2 separate regions of the Homo sapiens genome follow, and region 1 is linked to region 2. The links are contacts of gene promoters, found by promoter capture Hi-C in human tissues and cell types (Jung and others, 2019). All regions are on one chromosome and are shown on one strand. The core of a region is centred on a gene start or on the middle of the fragment in contact, and the rest is flanking DNA. Distances in the headings are between cores, read along the strand shown.

Region 1 (5,028 bases), core at 1,846-4,345, 350 kb before region 2:
GGGAAGTCTACTGTTGCCACATACTTCTATTCCAACTTTATTAGGGAACAGAGATGCTATTTATCGGGCTACCACCCCAATATTTATTATCAATGTTTCTTTAGAAAATTGCCTGGGGGCTTTAGGTTCTGGCAGTCATCATACAGGGAGTTACAGTGTCATTTAAGGGTATCAAATTAGAAAACAGCTGTGGAAAATTATGTGAAAACCCAATTTCCACGGACACTGTGGACATGGTGATTGTGGATGTGTAATGAACAGGGCCCATGATAAGAATGTAATTGAACAATGCTTTTCCACATTCAGCACATCCAGAATCTCAGAATCCTTTACATAATTCAGAATGTATCTTGCCAGAACAAGAGAGACCACATCATAAATGTGAATTCTAAATACACAGCTCTTTTTAAAATCTACCATGACTAATTATAACTGTTGGCTCAACAGATGTACCCCCACTCCATCACCCTTCTTTTTGGAAACACAATACCACTAAGAGCCCCTGCAAGATATCCTCCTGATGGGTCTAAAAAGCCCTCTGCTGACAAGTACCGCCTGAGAATGAGTCTTACACACCTGCTCGGCAGGCTGTGCACATCTCAAATATTCAGGGAAGCAAGGAGGAAGGGGTATGGCCCTCCAGGGTGCTGCTGTCAAGCACCGTAGCAGAGTAACCTACTGGAATTACTTGTAAAACCATCCCCACAAAAGCAAAAATCCATATGCTGCCTCTTGTCGTTCCAGAGGCAATAGTTAAGTTGTACACACGGAAAAGACCCAAATTCGGGGTTGTCGCTTCCTGATCATTTTTGTCCTTTTTTGTAACTGTGCCACCCAAATGAGCAATGAGCAATATACCAAAAACCCGAGGCTGTCCACATGGCAAGATCTGATCCGAGTTCCATTCCAATGTTGTTCAAAGGTGATTGTTTTCCAGGGTTGTAGTCTCTTACAGCCATAGGGGGATGGAGGGCAACAATCACTGAACTCAAAGGCAGCCCTGGTTCCTTTGATCACTGCGAAGCCATCTAGGAAGTAGCTCCTGACAGACCCTTCCCTCCCTGGAAGGCGCGGCCTGCTAGATAACCCCTCAACTGCAGGCCAAATAGCACAGTATTTGGATGGAGAGGAGGCTCCATTAGAGGGGTGATAGAGGCAGCTCTCTTTCTGGTAAAAATTAAAGCTTATATAGGGCCATAAGGATGAATGGAAGCATAACATACTGAAAGTGGTCAGTGTCTTGTGTTTTATTTTCCTTATCTGCTCAGGGCTGTTGTTTTGAGAGCTGGCCCAGGACCCACATAATGCTGGCTCAGAGCCATATTAAAAGATATGAGGAGTCTCCCCTTATTTTCCAGAAAAGCCTTAGCTTCTGTAAACTTCAGGGAAGATTAAAGAGTCCATGAGGTAGCTGTCTAAGGTTTTGCCCATATGCCCAAGAGCTTCCCACTGTAGATCGTGTTAGCCACCTCAATCCCCAACCCCCAACCTCAGATAATCGAAGTCCACAGGACATGTTGATGCCCATTACCTGACCAGAAAAATGCTTTCTTTGTCCTGTGTTTAACTCTATTTTTTTTTCTTTTTCTTTTTTGAGATGGAGTCTTGCTCTGTCACCCAGGCTGGAGTGCAGTGGCACAATCTCGGCTCACTGTAACATCTGCCTCCCAGGTTCAAGTGGCTCTTCTGCCTCAGCCTCCCAAGTAGCTGGGATTACAGGTGCCCACCAACTTGCCCAGCTAATTTTTGTATTTTTAGTAGAGATGTGGTTTCACCATGTAGGCCAGACTGGTCTCGAACCCCTGACCTCAGGTGATCCGCCCACCTCAGCCTCCCAAAATACTGGGTTTACAGGCGTGAGCCACCATGTCCGGCCTACCTCTATTCTTTCTAATAGTTCTTGTTAACTTTGATAACATGTCTGCAATAAGCTTTGAATTACTGTAATGTTTGAAATGTACACTGGGAGAGTTCCTATATACAACTCAGCTGCCATCCATACCATGAGAATAGTGATTTGTTTGGCTTTTCTTTAACCCATTAGAGTTGAACAAAATATTCAAGACTCACTTCTGTTTTTTTCAGGAGTCTCTGAATATCCCCTCTTGACCACCTTCTGGGGTATTAAATTAAACAGAAACAAAATTTATGGAAACATTCAACAGCCCTAATGATCTATAAGCCTTTGCCAGTGCTTAATCTGTTCCAGAGGTATATCTACCTCCTCAAATCACTCTTAAGGGGCCCCAGGTACCACCCAGCTTCTCCTAAGCATTTTAGTACTTTTCCCTGTCGCAGAAGCCTTCTCTGCCCCCTCCGCTTTGTCCTGCCTACACTGAACAAATCACCAAACCAGGCACTATGGACAGTGACTTGGCTGTACAGGTGCCCTTTGCATAACAATGATGTTCGTGAGAGGCATGACTCTTAAGCCGACATGAGTCTCTGTGACTTTAAATCCTCCTTGTTCCTTTCAGACAAACTGCTGACAAGCCTGGTCAGCATGCACTGACCTGAATGCCCTTTTCTACATCATTAAACCCCTTTTTAACTTCCCGCTGTGGGGATGATGTGTGTCTGCACCGGATCCACACTATGTTTCTTCCCCCTTTCTGTTTAATCACACCTAAATCAAAAGCAGAAAATCACAGTTAAAGCTAATTTGTATCATATTAAATATTAAAATCCATATTAAAATTAATGACATGGTGATATGGTGAGACCCCTTAATAACACTACCATGTGACAGTTTTCTATTTTCACTTACTATTGCTATTAACTTCGTGTTGGCATCAGTTGTTCTCTACAGGTGACAAGTGCATTTGATAGCAGCATATATATGTAAATAACTTACGAATGACAAAATTTTTATAATTTTTTTAAAAATACAAAATTAAACCCTCTAAAAAACTAATTTTTAAGATATCTCTGAAAAATACACAGATATATACGTACTCCTACCCTTTTGTGTCTTACCCTAAAAATTACTCTTTGCAAATAATCTTATAAGCTTTCACTCCCTTTTATTTTGCTTTGCTGGTGGCTCTGATGGTATATGTTCACTGGTGCCTTTTTGGGGGAACATTCCAGAACCCTGTTCTATTATACCACAGACACAGAAAGGTGTTCTGATAATGAGTACTAGTATTTTGGAAAATAAAACAAAAAACAAAATTTCACCACATCCTTGTGAGAATATTTCTACACATTCCTGGAGTTTGTCTGATGTGCTATCATTGGCAAGGTAGAAGGTCATCCTAAATTAACTTGGATCTTTTTCCATTATGGATCATATGCAGAAGCATGAATTGTAGAGTCTTCACAACAGAAATAGCTTGTTCTGTATTACAGGACTCCAGAGTGAGTGAGGGATTCATCCTGACTAACAATAAATATTGTTACATTAATGCTTCAGCACAGTCTCTTATATTGAGTACTGTAGAGAAAGAGGCATAGAATAAGTTTATTACTAACTAAGAAAAAAATAATAAACTCAACTTTCTCTTTACCAAACAATTTATCCGGAATTACAACCTGTATCATTGCAATGTTTTTATGAATTCTAGGCAATATCTTCTAACTTAAAAAATAAGTAAAACTAAAAAAAAAAAAAAAGAAAAAGAAGTGGTAAAACTTAAAGCTCCCCCATCTCACCCTTCATCACATACTAGCAGAATATCTTTCACCAATTCTTAACTATAGATACCCATGTAAGAAATAGTCTGTTTAATGGTCACATCAGGCATCAATCAAATGTTGAGGTTTACCAATCTTGGCAATATTGACATTTTGGATAGGCTAATTATTTGTTGTAAGGTACTATCATGTGCATTGTAAGACGTTTAACAACATCCCCGATGTCTGTCTACTAGGTGCCAGTTGTGACACTAAAAAGTGTCTCCAGACATTGGTAAATGTCCCCCCTGGGGTCGGTGGTGGAGGGTATGCCTGCAGTTGAGAACAACTGGTCTAGAGAAAAGAGGGTAATTGACCTAGTTTAGATGGAGTGCATAGTGCTGGGTCAGTTCGCTGTGAATCAGCGAGCAAGGATCAGTAAAGTACAGCATAATTCTATTTGAATATATGTGGCTGCTCCTTTAATCAGTGCTGAAAAGTCAATCTGCTAAGTGAGTGTTTACCACACTGCGGAGATTCCCTCTAGGGTTTGGCTTTTGTAGCTTTGCTCTTTGTTGAAGTTGTGCTATGATCTGAATGTTTGTGTCCCCCAAAAACTCATATGTTGAAATCTTAACAGACAAGGTGATGATATTACAAGGTGGCACCTTTGGGAGGTGATTAGAGATTAGATCATGAGAATTAAAGGGATTAATGTCCTTATAAGAAAGGCCTAAGAGAGAGTCCACAGCCCTTCTACCATGTGAAGACATAGAGAAAAAGCACCATCTGTGAACTAGAGAGCAGACCCTTACCAGATGCTGGATCTGCCAGCATCTTGATTTTGGACTTCCCAGTCTCCAGAAGTATGAGAAATAAATTTCCGTTGTTTATAAGCTACTCAGTTTATTGTATTTTCTTATAGTAACCACAACAGACTAAAACATGCTATTAAGCTTTTTAATTTATTATATTTATTTTTAATTTTTGCCTGTAGTTACTTCTTGTTTTTGAAGTTTTTCCCCTGTTTTAGGTATTTCTATTATCCTTACAGTTTTAGTATTCTGCCATCTTCAAGTAAGCTTTAAGTTGATTTTTGTTCAATGTGAGTTAGAATGTTGTTTTTTTCTATTTACTTTCCTCTCATTAGTATAACCTGAAATCTGCTAGGCAAAATGTGTGGGTTTTATTGTGTCTGTATTTCAGGAAGAAATAAAGGGTGGATGGTCATGTCCATATATTTGAGGCTCACTTGTTTATAAACCTTGGAAGTCGAGAGCCAAGTTAGCAGCTAGTTGAAAAGGATTAGAAGAACAAACCTCTCACTATCATAAAGTCCAATGTATTTAACAGTCTGGCTGGGTAATTAATGCTTAAACGTCAAAATGAGTCTGCTTGAAGTATTCTCTTAGA
Region 2 (5,137 bases), core at 2,371-4,870:
AGAATAAAATCATGGCTCAGAAGCCAAACAACAAAAACAACTCAAGGAGAAAAGAATGGTCAATAATGTCAGCTCCTCCCGAGAGGTCAGGCAGTTAAGGACTTTTGAAAAGATCCTCCAGATTGAGCAGAAGAGATGTTACTTTCTCCTAGGGAAAGCAGTTACATTTGAGGGGCAGGCACAAATGGGAAGTGAGGAAGTAGGAACAGCTATATGCAGAAGACTCTTTCACAAAATGTGACAGTGAAGAAAAGTGAGGAAGCCTCTTAGTTAACGGGGTATTACAGGGTTAAAGAAAGATAGGAGAGGCTGGAGGATCTTTATGTCCTCCCAGGAGGAATGGGAGAAAGGAAGGAACTGGAGACGTGGGAAACACATGGAATAATCAGTTGAGTGAGGTCCCTGTGGAAGAGGAAGGGGATGGGATCCGTAACACAGGTAGAGGATTGGCCTTAAGTAGAAGAGACAGCACTTCGTTCTTATAGGAAGGAAGGAGAAAAGATTGAAGAGGATGCAGATAAAATTTGAGGGAGGAGGCAGAAATCTGAGGGAATTCAAAACAGATGGCCTCAATTTCCTCAGTGAGCCAGAAGACCAGGTTGTCCACTCTTAATTCCTTCCTTTCCTTCACCCCACCATGTCTGCTTTGTCACTGAGCCCTGCTGATCCCACTGCCTAAAGAGCTCTTGAAACCATCCACTTTCTCCTTCTCTCCGGCCACTACTCCAGTTCAGGCCAGTGTTATACCCTCCAGAGTTTCTGCAACAGCCAACTGTCCTTCTTCTCAGGCTCTTTCTCCAGTCTCCACATGGCTGTCAGAGTGGTATTTCTAAAATGAATCTGATCATATCGCTCCAAGCTTCCAATGATTTGGTGACTCTCCATTATTCTTGGGTTAAATGAATTTCTTTCTGTGGCCTCCTAGACCCTGCATGGTCTAAGCCTCCATTTACCTCTCCCACAGACTCTCCCTCTCTCGTCACCTCATGCTGTAAGTGTCAGGCTCACTGAACTGCTTTATCCCTCACACACACACTATTTTCCTTCATGTGGGCTTTTACATGCTGCTCCCTTGGCTTGGCATATTCTCCACCCACTCCATCAAGTTTAAGTTTAAATGCCACTTCCTCCAGAAAGACTCTTCTGACCTCCCTACACTGGCCTAGGTTACTCTGCTGTGTGCTGCTGTGTTACAACACTCACTCCACAGCCTGTAAGCTCCATGAGGATAAGGACCATGTCCATTTTGTTCACACTTGTGCTGCCAACTCTCATCACAATGCCTAGCAGAGTAGGTGCCTAGTATGTGTTTGTTAAATGAATGAATTAGCGTTTTGATTAATTAATCTACTGAAAACAATGGTGTGAGGGATGTGGGGTAATGAGTGTGAAGAAAATAGAAAAAAAATCATCTATTTATTTATGAAGGGCCCAGTTGAGGTTTGAATTTTTTAGAAGTATGAATTTATAGAAGCGTCCCCTGGTGTGGTTGAGAAATCATTCTAGTTAGGGGCAATAATTTGAGGGATGAGTATAGAAGACAAGGAAACACAGTGGCCAAGGAGTGGTTGAAGGGATGATCCTTAGCATATGAGCTGGAAAGAAAGCACAAAGTCAGAAAGGAACAGAGTAGGAGAAAACAAAGAGGTCAAGGGCAAGAGGTCATTATGAGGTCAAAGAGTGTAATGGGAGCGAGAACATCTGAAAGCTGGAAGGATATAGGAGGTTGTGGGTAGAGAGAGGAATGCAAGAGTTTAGAATTTTAAAGGTGGAATAGTTCTACAGAGTGGTCCTGGGAGGGAGGAAGGTAACAGGAGCTAAGGAGGTCAAGAATCTGTGAAGCTGTGGTGTTGAAGGACACTGAGAAACCATGGCAGGATACACTATCCAGATCTCGAAGTTTTCAGGGAACAAGAGGGTATACCTGGGAGATCTACGTATGAGAAGGGGTGAAGGTGTGAGCTTGATAAGTTAAGCAGAGTTTATTCAGAAGTTGGGACAGGTCTTCCTGTGGTGTGCATGCCATCCATGACTGTCTCCTGGGGGTTGTACAAGTGGCTGTGTGGTAAGGGCAACTGTGGCACAGCCTCCTGTTAGTGACAGGCTTCTAGGACACCCACTATGTATGGGCAGCTCCAAGGAAGTAAACCTAATAAGATGTGCTGTGACAGTTGTGACAGTGCTTCTGATGGATGTGGATTGCAGTGACAATGTCTCCTGAGAGGTGCTGGTCTACTTGTTTGTTGCTGGTGACAGTGTTTCTGGAGAGTGTTAGCAGTAACAATGTCTTCCATGGTATGTGTTGGCCTTGACAATGAACCGGTGGGAGTATGTTGGTTGCAGCATTTCTCCTGTGGGTGTGTGTTGTCATGAGAGCATTTTCCGTAGGTGTGTGTTGGCTTGATAGAGTCTGCTGTAGGTGTGTGTTGGTTCTGACTGGGGGTGCTTCCTGGGGGTGGGCTTCCTGGAAGTGTATGATGGCTGTGAGGGTATCTCTTGAGGATGTGTGTTCCCTGGGACTGTGTCCTCTTGTGGGTTGAGTAGGGCTATGACTGTGTCCCTATGGGTATTTGAGAAGTTGACATAAGCGACAATATTTTTCTGGCCTATGACCTTGTGGCTGTGGGCCCAGCCCGCCACACTGAGTTCATTGTGCTTCTAGACCTCCCTCTCCCCACCCCCTCCACGTGGGACCCACGCCTGCGGTGACCTTGCTCTGTCCCCTGCACGGGATTCTGAGCTGGGTATCCCAGACACAAACTCCCAGTTGCTCCAATCTCCCACTCAGAACACGTCTGGGTGACCCCCCCCTCCATCCACTTCAGGCTGTGCCTGCCTCTCCTCTGCTTCTCTGTACTTCTCCCCACTCAGTTTCTTTGTCTCTGTCTCAGTTGGTCTCTGTCACACACCCATCCTCCACATTCTGACACATGGGCTCCCACAGAGCGGGCAACACACCCTCACAGGGACTCGCTCACCATGACACACGGTCATTCTGACCCTCACACCCTCAGAGTGACACGCACATGCACACACAGCCAGAGAGACGCCCAGGGACACACAACCTCCCAGTGACACGCACTGACACACTCCGACGATGCACTGGAACACAACGCTGTCGCACCCCACACCCCCGGCGCACGCTCCCGCCGCCACCCTCCCCGACTCGATGACACACGCACACAAAGACCCCCAGGCCCTGCCCCCACGCTCACGTTCACGCCCGCCCGGGTCCCGCAGGCCCAGGCCCCCCCTCCCCCATTGTCTCCGGCTCAGAACAAAGCCCCCGGCTCCGCCGCCGCTGCCGCAGCCCAGGGGAGGCCGGCGGGCAGGGCGGGCGCGGCCAGACGGGCCGGGCGGGCGCGGGCACTGACCTCCGCGCGACGCGGGCTCCCTCGCCCGGTGCTGGGGCGCCGTCCGGCCGCGGTCAGCCCCCCGGGCAGCGCCCGCTCGCGCGGGGCCTGAGGCCGCGCATCGTCCGCAGTCGCTGTCTCCGAGGCCCGCGATCCCCTCCGGGCAGCCGCCGTCGGTCCGCGCGCCCTTGGCCGTCGATCGGTCCGTCCGCTGACGCCCGGGCGCCGCCTCCTGCACAGCCGCCCCGCCGAGGATGCGAGCTCCGCTGCCGCGGCCCCGCGCCCCCTCCCCTCCCCTCCCCCCGCCCTCCGCGCGGTAACCCGAGCCCCCGCCCCTCCGCCCGCGGAGCCCCCGCCCCCGCCCCCACCCGCGCTCCGCGCCGCCGCCCCCCCTTCCCCCCGGCGCCCGCCCGGCCTCCCTCCGCCCCTCCACTTCCCGGCCCCAGGCCCCGGCTCCGGATCCGGCCCCAGCGCCGCGCCGCGCCCCCGTCCCGGTTCCCTTCCCTTCTCCCCGTCACTTCTCCCGTCCTCTCCTCCCATTCGGTTCTCTACGCCCTCTCGTCTCTTCCCCTTCTCGCCGCTCCCTGCTGCTCACCTCCTCCTCTTCCATCTTCTTTCCATCCCCTATTCCCCTCTTCTCCCTCAGTGCCCTGGTCTCCCTCTCGCCCCTTCTTTTTCCCAACCGTCATCTCCATTCCCCTCTGCCTTTCTCCCATCCTCTTCTTCTCGCCCCATCTCCATCATTTTCTCCCCAGCTCTTCTCCCCTTTCTCTTCTCCTTACCCCTTCTGCTTGATCTCTCTCCAGCCTCTTTACATCAGATTCTCCTTCCCCACCTCTCCTTTTATCCTTTTCTTCCTATCCCTTTCTCCCCGTCTCTTCTCCCCACCTTTCTCCCCATCCCCTTCTCCCTGTGTCTTTCGCCTCACCTCATCATCCCCTTTTCCTCACGCCTTCTCCTCATTCCCTTTTCTCACCCCTGCCCTTTTCACTACCCGCTGTCTCTTCCCCTTCTTCCATCGTAACCTCGGCCTTCTCCCCTGTTAGTCACTTTTCATTATCCCATGATTTCTGTCTCTTTTCTCTCCTTCACCCCCAGGCTCCCTTTCCCCCACTTTCTCTTTATCCCAAATTTGAGGGTAGAGATCGGGAGATATTGGAAAGAAGAGCTTTGGGGATGGTGGTCCCACTCACGATATACTCCCTAGAAAAATTAAGTGAGGAGGAAACCGGGCAGGGAAGTGGGAAGGGGCTCAAAAAACCAACTTGGGAGAGAATATGGGGAGAGGGGAAATCAGACAGAGACAAAGAGCAAGCAATCTTAAAGGAACTGGGAAGAGTTCTGACTCCTGTCCTTCTTCCTTAGGACTGCGAGTAGACTGTGAGAAAAACAGGTTTTCTGGACTTGAGATGTGTACAAATGGCACAAAGAAATCAGGAACTTCTGTGGAGAAGGAACACAGTTTCAGCTGAAGAAGAAGGGAGTGTGATTTTGGAAGAGGAGTGAGGGAGAGACTGGGGTCCTTGATCATATCCACGGCGCTTGGGCAGCTGGGTGGATGGATGGTGGTGAGGCTGGCTGTGCTCCACAAAAGGAGCAGCAGGAGGCTGCAGGGGGTTCGTATGAGGAGATGATGACTGTGACTTGGGGCTGCTGACTTTGAAGTGCTGGTTGGGTAGGTAGGTCTGCAACTTAGAGGAGCGGTCTGGGATGGACATAAATATTTGGGAGTCATCTGCAAATGCCGTATAAGCTTGAATATAGGGTGAAGTTTTTGCTTTTTT

Evidence for each region. Contacts are between HindIII fragments. The study calls those that stand out against the background at their distance.
Region 1: a fragment that was not itself captured here is called in contact with the fragment with the promoter of DCHS1 in region 2 in 1 of the 25 tissues and cell types used here (spleen).

The regions. Positions count from the first base shown.
Region 1 is chr11:6,301,416-6,306,443 of GRCh38, forward strand. No RefSeq gene overlaps it. Among named protein-coding and RNA genes, the nearest start is that of CAVIN3, 17 kb to the right of the region's middle. RefSeq lists an enhancer at 2,126-2,844. The HindIII fragment of the contact is 3,077 bases long and covers 1,558-4,634 here.
Region 2 is chr11:6,652,189-6,657,325 of GRCh38, forward strand. It overlaps DCHS1 (dachsous cadherin-related 1), which reads right to left and starts at 3,621. Exons shown (of 21, transcript NM_003737.4): 1 at 3,375-3,621. The HindIII fragment of the contact is 6,359 bases long and covers 1-5,137 here.